Linked DNA regions of Homo sapiens: all the other regions are linked to region 2. The links are contacts of gene promoters, found by promoter capture Hi-C in blood cells and fetal thymus (Javierre and others, 2016). All regions are on one chromosome and are shown on one strand. The core of a region is centred on a gene start or on the middle of the fragment in contact, and the rest is flanking DNA. Distances in the headings are between cores, read along the strand shown. Region 1 has its middle 180 kb from the start of LINC01821. Region 2 holds the start of DNAH7 (dynein axonemal heavy chain 7). Region 3 has its middle 180 kb from the start of LINC01790.

Region 1 (3,163 bases), core at 180-2,679, 1.9 Mb after region 2:
AACATAAACATATTGCAATAGTATGTTAAGTGTGCAAAAGTAACCAATAAAGATTAACTCAAATGATGACAGATAGATCTATATTTGGAGGAGAGGATTCTGGTCTTCTGTAGGAGGTCATTATTCAATTATCAAAATAAGGATTATGTGAGTGTCAAAGTAAATTTTCACAGAATGAGCTAAACAGGCAATAAAAACTTTACTCAAGAAAATTGTGTTAGGGGAGAGATACTGAACACAACTCTGCTGGAACAAAGGGTGGGTGATTTTAACAGTGAGGTGAACTAATGAAAAACGAATGAGGGCAGGCTGGTCAGTGTGATCAGGCCATATATGTTTGCTAATCATTGCTTATTAAAGTGATGCTCCTCCAATCTGACAGAGACTGAAATAAAGTAACACTATCTTTCTTGATGATTATATTTCAAAAGAGTGGCTCCTAAGTTTCTAAGAAAGACATTCCTGGGTTGTAAAACTAGTAAGAGACTTGGAGAAGATTTATATCTGAAAGCTGCAGAGAAAGAATTCACAATTTCAAGTTTACTAAAGTAAATAAGAAAATGGAGATTGAAGTCTAAATTTGGAAAGGAACCTGTTTAAAGTTTAGTTAGCTGAGGCGAACCTTAAAGCCCTCTTTGGTTAGAGCTTATGAAAACTTGATAAAACCAAAAATTGAAAAACAACCATTAATTGAAAAGTGTAGATAGTTAAAATAAGAACTAAAATATTTAAAAAGTAGTTCATTTTGCAGTGGGTGATGGAGCGTGATATATATGTGTGTGTGTATATATATATATATATATATACTGAGTATATATATATATACTCAGTATATATACATATATACTGAGTATATATATTCTCAGAATATATTCTGAGAATATATATATATATTCTGAGTATATATATATATTCTGAGTATATATATATATATTCTGAGTATATATATATATATATATATGTATATATTCTCAGACACAGTGTTGACAGAAAAAGCATTAATAATGAAATTGAAGATAACCTGTTTGTATGACCTAGTGAAAAGAATTTTTACCCAAACCAAAAACTAGGTGAACTCCACTAAGCTTTAATTATAAAATGGCTTTTTAAAAAAACTGTCAAAGTATATACAAATTAAAATAAATATATTTTAAAAAATATTTTAGGAACAAAACAATCTACTCATTGAATACCAAATTTATACAATGGCAGAAGTGGCTAAGCTGTCATTAAGAAGTGTCATTAAGTAAATAATATAAAATCTTCAGTATTTTAATAGAAAGATCAAGAAAACTAATATAGGCTAACATCAAACATATTTGAATGTAAATATATCTCCTATCTTCTCAACACAATGAATTTCTAGTAACTATTGTCTAAGGATAATCACCCTCAAGAGAATTGAGCCTACACTTGTTATTTATTTCTTCTGAAAATCACAATAATTGAATAATCTAGAAAATATATGGAAATGGAAGTATATTTATGTCACAGCACAGCCTGAGGTGCTATGTTAATAGCAAATATTCCCTGTACCTGGTGAGATTATATAAGGTGTAAAGAGCCTATGAATAATAGTAAGAAAACACCTAGGACTTCTGAATCAAAGGCCTGCATTATAGTCGACATTGAAATAGCTTTACCTGAATAATTATTCTGCATCTCTCTTGATAATGATAATAAAAACTAGCAACTGTTGTGCAATGCATTATTTTAATCCTTAGCAAATAGTATTTAAAACTGTTTAAATGCTGTGGAGAATACAAAGCTTAAAACAAAGTCCCTAACCTTTGAATATTTTTTAAATGAAGAGATAAGACATACAATCATTAAAAAATAATATAACATGGAATGGGTGATTGCATGTCAAAAATTTTCTAGTTTTTAAAATTCCACAAAACCTGATGAAGAAGGTCAACTTCTATCTTATCTTTGTAAATTTATCTAACACAGCAGAAAATAATAAATACGTTTTCTGATCTCAATGTGTGTGTGTTATATATATATATGTGTGTGCATATATATATATGCACACATGTTCCTTTATAATGCACCAAACCATTGTGACCTAAAATTAGAAGATGATTATTGAGCTCTTGTAAAATGTAAATTAAAATTTCCAGATAAGTTAACACACATATACACACATATATGAACAGGCATATGTATGTGCATATATATGAATACATCACATATTTTATATATATATATGTGACATTTGTGTGATTTATTTCTCTACCAATTAGATCAATACATTCTTTTTTAATTGTATTTTTGCTGCTAGTTTACATTTAAAATCATGTGCACGTTATTTTCACAATTTTTAAAAATAATTGTTATTGTGGTAAAATATATGTCTTAGCCAACTCAGGCTGCCATAACAAAATACCATAGACTGAGTAAGTTAAACAACTGTCCTATATTTTTCACAGTTTTGGAGCCTGGAAAATCCAAGATCAAGGTGCCAGTATGGTTGGTTTCAATAAGGGCTCTCTTCCTGGCTTGCAGATGGCCACCTTCTGGCTATGTACTCACATTGCACTTCCTTGGTATATATGAACAGTGAGAGAAGAAACTCTAGTATACCTTTCTCTTTTTCTAAATTGATCATTGTCATTGTACTTATTTATTCGGTATAATTTGATGTTTGGATACACACATATATATAATATTATATATATATATATATATATATATATATATATATATATATAAAATTATCCAATAAGGGTGGTTAGTAACCCATCACCTCATACATTTATCATTTCTTTCTGGGGATATTCTTTTAACTATTTGTAATAATCACTGCTTTACTGTTAGCTATAGTCATCCTAGATAAATACATTTTTAAAATTAATGTATGGCTTAACGTATGTTTCTTTGGAAATTTTAATTTATGTTTTACACTGTAAGAGCTCAATAATTGTCTTCTAATTTTAGGTCATAATGGTTCAGTGGATTATGAAGGAACATGGTGAATTTAGGCAGCTGCCAAAGGGAGTCAGTTGTTTATATGCCAATGTGTCCTACCTACTAATTTTTCTTTTGCAGAATTCACTGTGGTCTATGTGTGGTCCACAGGTTTTTAGGTCAAGAAACTTAAAATGTACTAAGTAGATAAAGTGTGTTTCTGTGTATGTGTGTCTGTGTGTGTGTGTGTTGT
Region 2 (2,920 bases), core at 85-2,584:
TTTTTCCTTGTCGTTTTGGTGTCATGTCCAAGAAATCACTGCCAAATCCAATGTCGTGAAGCGATTCTTCTAAGTTTTCTTCTAAGAGTTTTATAGTTTAAGACCTTACAGTTACATCTTTGATCAATTTTGAGATAATTTTGTATATGATGTTTTTAGGTAAAGGTCCAACTGCATTTTTTTCCGCATATGGACATTTAGTTTCCCCAGCATCATTTGTTGAAAATAAATTGTTAAGGTCACTATAGTCTTGTAGTAAGTTCTGAAATCAAGAAGTGTGAGTACTCCAACTTTGTTCTTTAATTTCAAGATTGTTTTGGCTATTTATGACCCCTTGGGGTTCCTTGTTAATTTCAGGATGGAATTCTGCCATTTCTTAGCATAAAACTTTTCAGTGGAGGTCAGTTGCTTTTGACATCCAAACTCCTGCCCTTTTATAGGGTCCTTTAAGATATATCACCTGCTTATCACCTCAGCTTCTTCTCTAGACTGGCTCCAATCCCCTTTATCCAAACCTACTCATCGACCTCTCAGAACCATTTTCACTGCTTCCAATAGCTATGCTCTCTTGTCTCAGGCCTTTGTATGTGACCTGCTTTTTGCCCGGCATTCTTTGCCTGGCATTTCTTCTTCCTTCACATTTCAGCTTCCACATCCCTTCCATGCCCTCCATGAGAAAATTAGTTGGTGCTTTATGTTCTCACTGAGGACTGCCATTCTTAGCACCGTCTCCACTACACGGTAAGTGCTTGGCTTGGACACCCCCCAGCCTGTGGCGAATGGATGTCTTGGTCACATTTGTGCTTAGCACACCACTTTTCATGTAGTAAACCATCTGTGAATGTTGGTTTCAAGAATTGTTGGAAGGTTCCTTTACTGGTATTCTTCCAAAGGATAGTTTTCTGGAGTGTGGGAAGAGTCAACAGCACAGGGGTTGGAAGCACATGAATAATGAAAGGTGTTTACTGGATCCTGCCTCGCATTACTCCACTCGCCCACATTAGCAATGAAATCTGTAATCATTTCATTCCAGTGTTTCTCCGAGACCTCTGAGGGGTTAAGGCAGCAGTCCTGGGCATCCGGCTTATTTAGAAGGAGGGTGCGGAAGTGTGAGGATCTACTTCAGTAATCAGAGGATATTGGAGGAGACCCACCCAGTGTCTTTGGTTATTCAACGCACACCTTAGACCTCACAACACTGGCAGCAGCGCCCCAGAAAGCTCCTCTTGCGGGACCGCGCGCCAGCTTCCGGGTCCAGCCCCAGAAGGAACAGATGACCGGAAATGGAACCTGCGCGGGCCCGTTGCTTAGCAACAAACGCTGCCCGGACGCTAGACGGCTCTGGTGCGGAGGGAGCTGAGACCGCTGCAAGTCCCGGGGCCCTGCCTCTATCGTCCTAGGGGTTCCGCGGGCAGGAGCAACCCAGAAGCACCGGTGAGGCCAGCGCGTCCTCGCAGCCATGAGCAGTGAGCAGGTGAGAGGGCTGCTCTTTGCCAGGCTCGCCGCCGCCGCGACGCTTCCCAGGCGTTTCGGAAGTGGTGGAAGCCCCTCCTGCCTAGCGAACTCCCCAGCTGTGACTCCGCGGTGTACAGCTTCCTTCACCCCACTTGTGGCCTGGGTTACTGAGCGCTTTCCGTGAATGCCCTTATAAGTTCCCTTCCCAGCTGTTTGCCCTTGGTCGTCATAACAACCAAACCTAGCCGCCTAGCGGCGCGCCAGCAGGGGGAGCCACAGCCCAGAGCACCCCCAGAGTGCTAATGGCGGTGTGCTTGGGTGAGAGGCGGCTCTGCGAGGAGTTGCAGCGGGTTTGGGTTCTAAGGTGGGAATCGAAGCCAACTCCTAGCCATGTGACTTTGGACAAATCTCTTAGTCTTTGTAAGCCTTAGTTCTCCCACCTCTTATGCAGAGCGGGGGAAACATCAGAACAACTTTTCTTCTTTTTGAGGTTGTTGTCAATTTCAAATTAGATACCATGCCATACCATAACTATACAATATTATACTATACATGAAAGGCCTTGGTAAGTGACATATGGCACTTCTTAAGATGATATTCCATGGTATGTGATAAAAGATGCACTTTGCAATAGCTGCTTTTCTTTCTCTTTTTTTCTCGTTTTTTTCCTTTCTGTCTTTCTCTCCTTTTTCTTCTAAGAATTCTTTCTTTATTGAACTTAAGAGCAACTAACAGAAAGGCAGAACAATGGTCAGTCGTCTTAATATCAGCACAGAATGGGAAGATATTAAACGTGGTCATTATTCTGGCTAGCTAGAAAATAACTCTAGCTTTCTACGTAGTGATGAATAAGGAAAAGGACTCTATAAACCTCCTGGAAGAAAAACAGTTGTTTTTAAGCCTGCAAATTTCATTTAGCTTTTAAACAATATTAAACGGTAATTATTTCTTTTTTATTGCTTTATAATGCTTTTTTCGGTAGTGTTAGAATTTATTGTGGAAACAGTATTAAAACGGATTTAGTCTCCTATCCATTGAGTTGTACATTACTAACAGAACTATGTGAAGATCCTGATTGGTTAGTTCATCAAATAAGTAATTAATACCTGAAATGCTCAAGAAAATTTGGTTTGAACCTTTTTAAAAAAATAAGTATAATTTAAGAACTAAGAAATGGACACTGATTCATATGCTAAAGTATAATTAGTATTGGTATTAATAATAAAAGAGTAAATGACAAGCAAAAAACAAAAAGTTCAGATACAAGTAACCAAAAACACTGAGCAATTGTTTAATAGATCTTACTAGTTTTTTTCTACATGATATTAATGTAATCAGATTTAAAAAATAACATTTGTTACTGTCACCATTATTATATATTGAGCAGCTTCTTTGCTTGTTGCCCAAGTTAGTCTTCGGCCAGATCTTGAACCATATCCTACGTTGTTAGAGTTTAAAATACACT
Region 3 (3,250 bases), core at 346-2,845, 1.5 Mb after region 2:
TTGGACAAATCAGATTTCTTTGACAAATTCATTTGGGATTGGAATTCAAACAAAGCCAGGTAATATAAATATTTTAGGTTTTCTGGATTGTATTAATTCACTCCCTCCTTCAGTCCCAGTCACGCTTGTCTTTGTGATTTCTTAAACATACTAAATATACTGGCACCTCAGAGCCTTTGCTTTGTACATAGCTCTGCCAGTGAGGCATTTCCTTCAAATGTACACATAGTTTACTCATTTTCAGAGAAGGATTCCTTCACCATTTATTTAGACTATCACTTCTCACTCCATAAAATTCCCTCCTGTATCCATATGTAATTTTTCTGCATAGAACTCAAAAACTTATTCTTCTAGTATCTTCCTCCCTTCTGTATAATGTAAGCTTCATGTAAGGTGATAGCACCATCTCCTGTGGTTTGCCTGTCTAACTCTCTTAGTAAATAAGAACTCTCTTTAAACCTCCTCAATGCCAGAACTCTGACTATGACACGGCACCTTTGAAGACTTTTAGTCAACTAAGTATCTGATAATGTGTCAGTATTCACATGAGCCTTCTTAATTGAAATTATTTAATTCTATTTATTAAGTGGAAACTACATAATGGACCAAAACTGGTCCATCAGAGTCATTTTTTCCTCAAATTAAAGCGGAGAGTGTTAAAGGCTCGGAATTGGGACTGGAGTCTTGGCAAAGAGAAAGCTCTTGAGACAGTGTTTTTCATCTAGATACTGAGTTACCCACCATTACACTTATTCACCTACTCATTAATTAATTCCACAAATATCAGTTAAACACTAATAGTTTGCCAGGAGTTGTATTGTATACTCTTGATACCATGATGAAAATAAGACATGATTCTTCCTGTCAAGGAAGTGATGACTTATTAAGGATTATTAAGTTATAAAAAGAAAGCAAATATAAATGATGGCTTTAGTGCATGATAAGAGAATTAGACTGAAGTAAAGGGGAGCTTTGAGAGTAGAGCAAGGGGTCAGACAGAGTTCTGTAGTCTAAATCAACATTAAAGTGTGAGAAGGAGTGAGCCACATAATTGGCAAGAGGGAATATGAGGGATGGGTTATTCAGGACAGGAAATACAACGACATAGAAAAACTGAGAACGGTTCAATCTCTAGTTTTGGAATAAAGAGCCATTAAAATTTTATACAAGGAAATGACAATAGATTTGCACTTAGGAAAATAACTCAAGTAGCAAGAGAAGAAACAGTATTAAATGACAGGAAAACTGAACTGACAGAAAAAGACAAGTTAGGAGGCTTTTGTGTGCATTCAGGGAAGAAAGAGGTTGACATGTACTAGATATCAATGGTGTCATTGAATGTTTGTGACAGGCTGAACTTAAAGATATGATGAAGGATAAAGAAAAACAGAGTATCAAGGACAACACCCAGGAATTTTAGTGTGTTCATTCAGGGGAGAATGGTGTTGCTCACCTTACTGACATACAGAAGGAAGATAATCATGTTTGTTTTGTCTGAGGCCTGGGGAGAGAACAGTTTATTTATTGGGTTTAGACAAACTGTAGCATTATATCTGAATCCTGCCTTTAGAAATCTAGAAAGCAAGCAAAGGGCTGACTGGTTTGGCAGCCAGAAGAGTGCAGAAGCACCTGCACCATATCTTAGAGACGGTAGGGTCAGGATGTAGTGAGTGTTGCCACAAAAGAAAGTGTAGATCACTCAGGAGAAAGAATCACAGTGGGGTAGTCTTGGGTCATCCAATTGAAAGGCCTGGACTTTGAGGTCAGAGACAGTGGGCACTTGGGGAGCTCCAGGACAGAGAATATACATTCCACCAAAGAACCTTTCTGATAGAGTATGCATTCTGCTGGTGAGATACAGATAGAGAGCAGGATTACCCCATCACATCATTTTCCAGTTGGAAAACAGCCTGGAGTAGGTGTGGGCTTCCAATCTGAAGTGGCCTGAACAAGGGAAAGGGGAAAAAATAACATTAATTTAATTTTTATTTTGAATAACATTTTGTATGATGTCCAGTTATTGAAATGAGACGTTGATTGTTACATAACAAAACTGGAGGACTGTTTCTTACCTCAGAATTAACAGAGTAGAGCTATTGGAATTTCAGCAAATAAAAGAAATTATTCTAACTGGATAAAGTCAAAAGAAAGAGGGAGAGCGACTCGAATCAAGTTTTGATCTACAATAGGACATTTCCACATATTATTTCTTCTGCCAGGAATGTTCTTTCCTTTGTCACTTGCATGGTTGGCTTTTTGAGAATTCAGTATCAGTTAAGAACATGGGCCACTGAAAATGTCTTTTCCAGCTGGATGCGGTGGATCACACCTGTAATCCCAGCTCTTTCTGAGGCCTAGGCAGGTGGATCACTTGAGGTCAGGGTTTGAGACCAGCCTGGCAAACATGGCAAAACCACGTCTCTACTGAAAATGTAGAAATTAGCCTGGCGTGGTATCATGTGCCTGTAATCCTAGCTACTAGGGAGGCTGAGGCAGGAGAATTGCTTGAACCCAAGGGGCGGAGGTTGCAGTAAGCCGAGATCATGCCACTGCACTCCAGCCTGGGTGACAGAGTGAGATTGAGTCTCAAAAAAAAAAAAAAAAAAAAAAAAGCCTTTTTCTAGCTTCTGCCAAAAATATTGATAGATATATATTGATAGATGAAGAAAAAGGAAAAAGATGGCTTGGAAGAGAGAGAGAGAGCGACCAATCCACTTAGTGTTTTATTTATTTTCATATGGTATGTCACATTTTGTAAGTACATGTTTGTTTGTGTTGTGTAACTACTCCACTAGGCGGTAAGCTTCATGAAGGCACGAACTTTGTCCTTTCCGCATATATTGTTCACCTTGCACCAAGCTCAGTACACATGGTCACTCATTTGATATTTTCAGAATAAAAGAATTAATATTCTGGGATGTGCAATGAATTACTAGAATATTGACTTTCTCGGCCGGGCGCGGTGGCTCACGCCTGTAATCCCAGCACTTTGGGAGGCCGAGACGGGCGGATCACGAGGTCAGGAGATCGAGACCATCCTGGCTAACATGGGGAAACCCCGTCTCTACTAAAAATACAAAAAAATTAGGCAAGCATGGTGGCGGGCGCCTGTAGTCCCAGCTACTCGGGAGGCTGAGGCAGGAGAATGGCATGAACCCGGGAGGCGGAGCTTGCAGTGAGCCGAGATCGCGCCACTGCACTCCAGCCTGGGCGACAGAGCGAGACTCCGTTTCAAAAAATAATAATAATA

The links. The method cuts DNA at HindIII sites, captures the fragments that hold promoters and counts their contacts. A CHiCAGO score of 5 or more calls a contact.
Region 1: a fragment that was not itself captured here is called in contact with the fragment with the promoter of DNAH7 in region 2 in 1 of 17 cell types (M2 macrophages); the score reaches 15.3 in M2 macrophages.
Region 3: a contact is called between a fragment that was not itself captured here and the fragment with the promoter of DNAH7 in region 2, in 1 of 17 cell types (total CD4 T cells). The highest score is 5.9, in total CD4 T cells.

The regions. Positions count from the first base shown.
Region 1 is chr2:194,166,335-194,169,497 of GRCh38, reverse strand. No RefSeq gene overlaps it. Among named protein-coding and RNA genes, the nearest start is that of LINC01821, 180 kb to the left of the region's middle. The HindIII fragment of the contact is 683 bases long and covers 1,088-1,770 here.
Region 2 is chr2:196,067,251-196,070,170 of GRCh38, reverse strand. DNAH7 (dynein axonemal heavy chain 7) reads left to right here and starts at 1,334. Exons shown (of 65, transcript NM_018897.3): 1 at 1,334-1,474. The coding sequence starts at 1,460. RefSeq lists enhancers at 1,423-1,512, 1,993-2,042. The HindIII fragment of the contact is 14,129 bases long and covers 1-2,920 here.
Region 3 is chr2:194,547,602-194,550,851 of GRCh38, reverse strand. No RefSeq gene overlaps it. Among named protein-coding and RNA genes, the nearest start is that of LINC01790, 180 kb to the left of the region's middle. The HindIII fragment of the contact is 2,421 bases long and covers 385-2,805 here.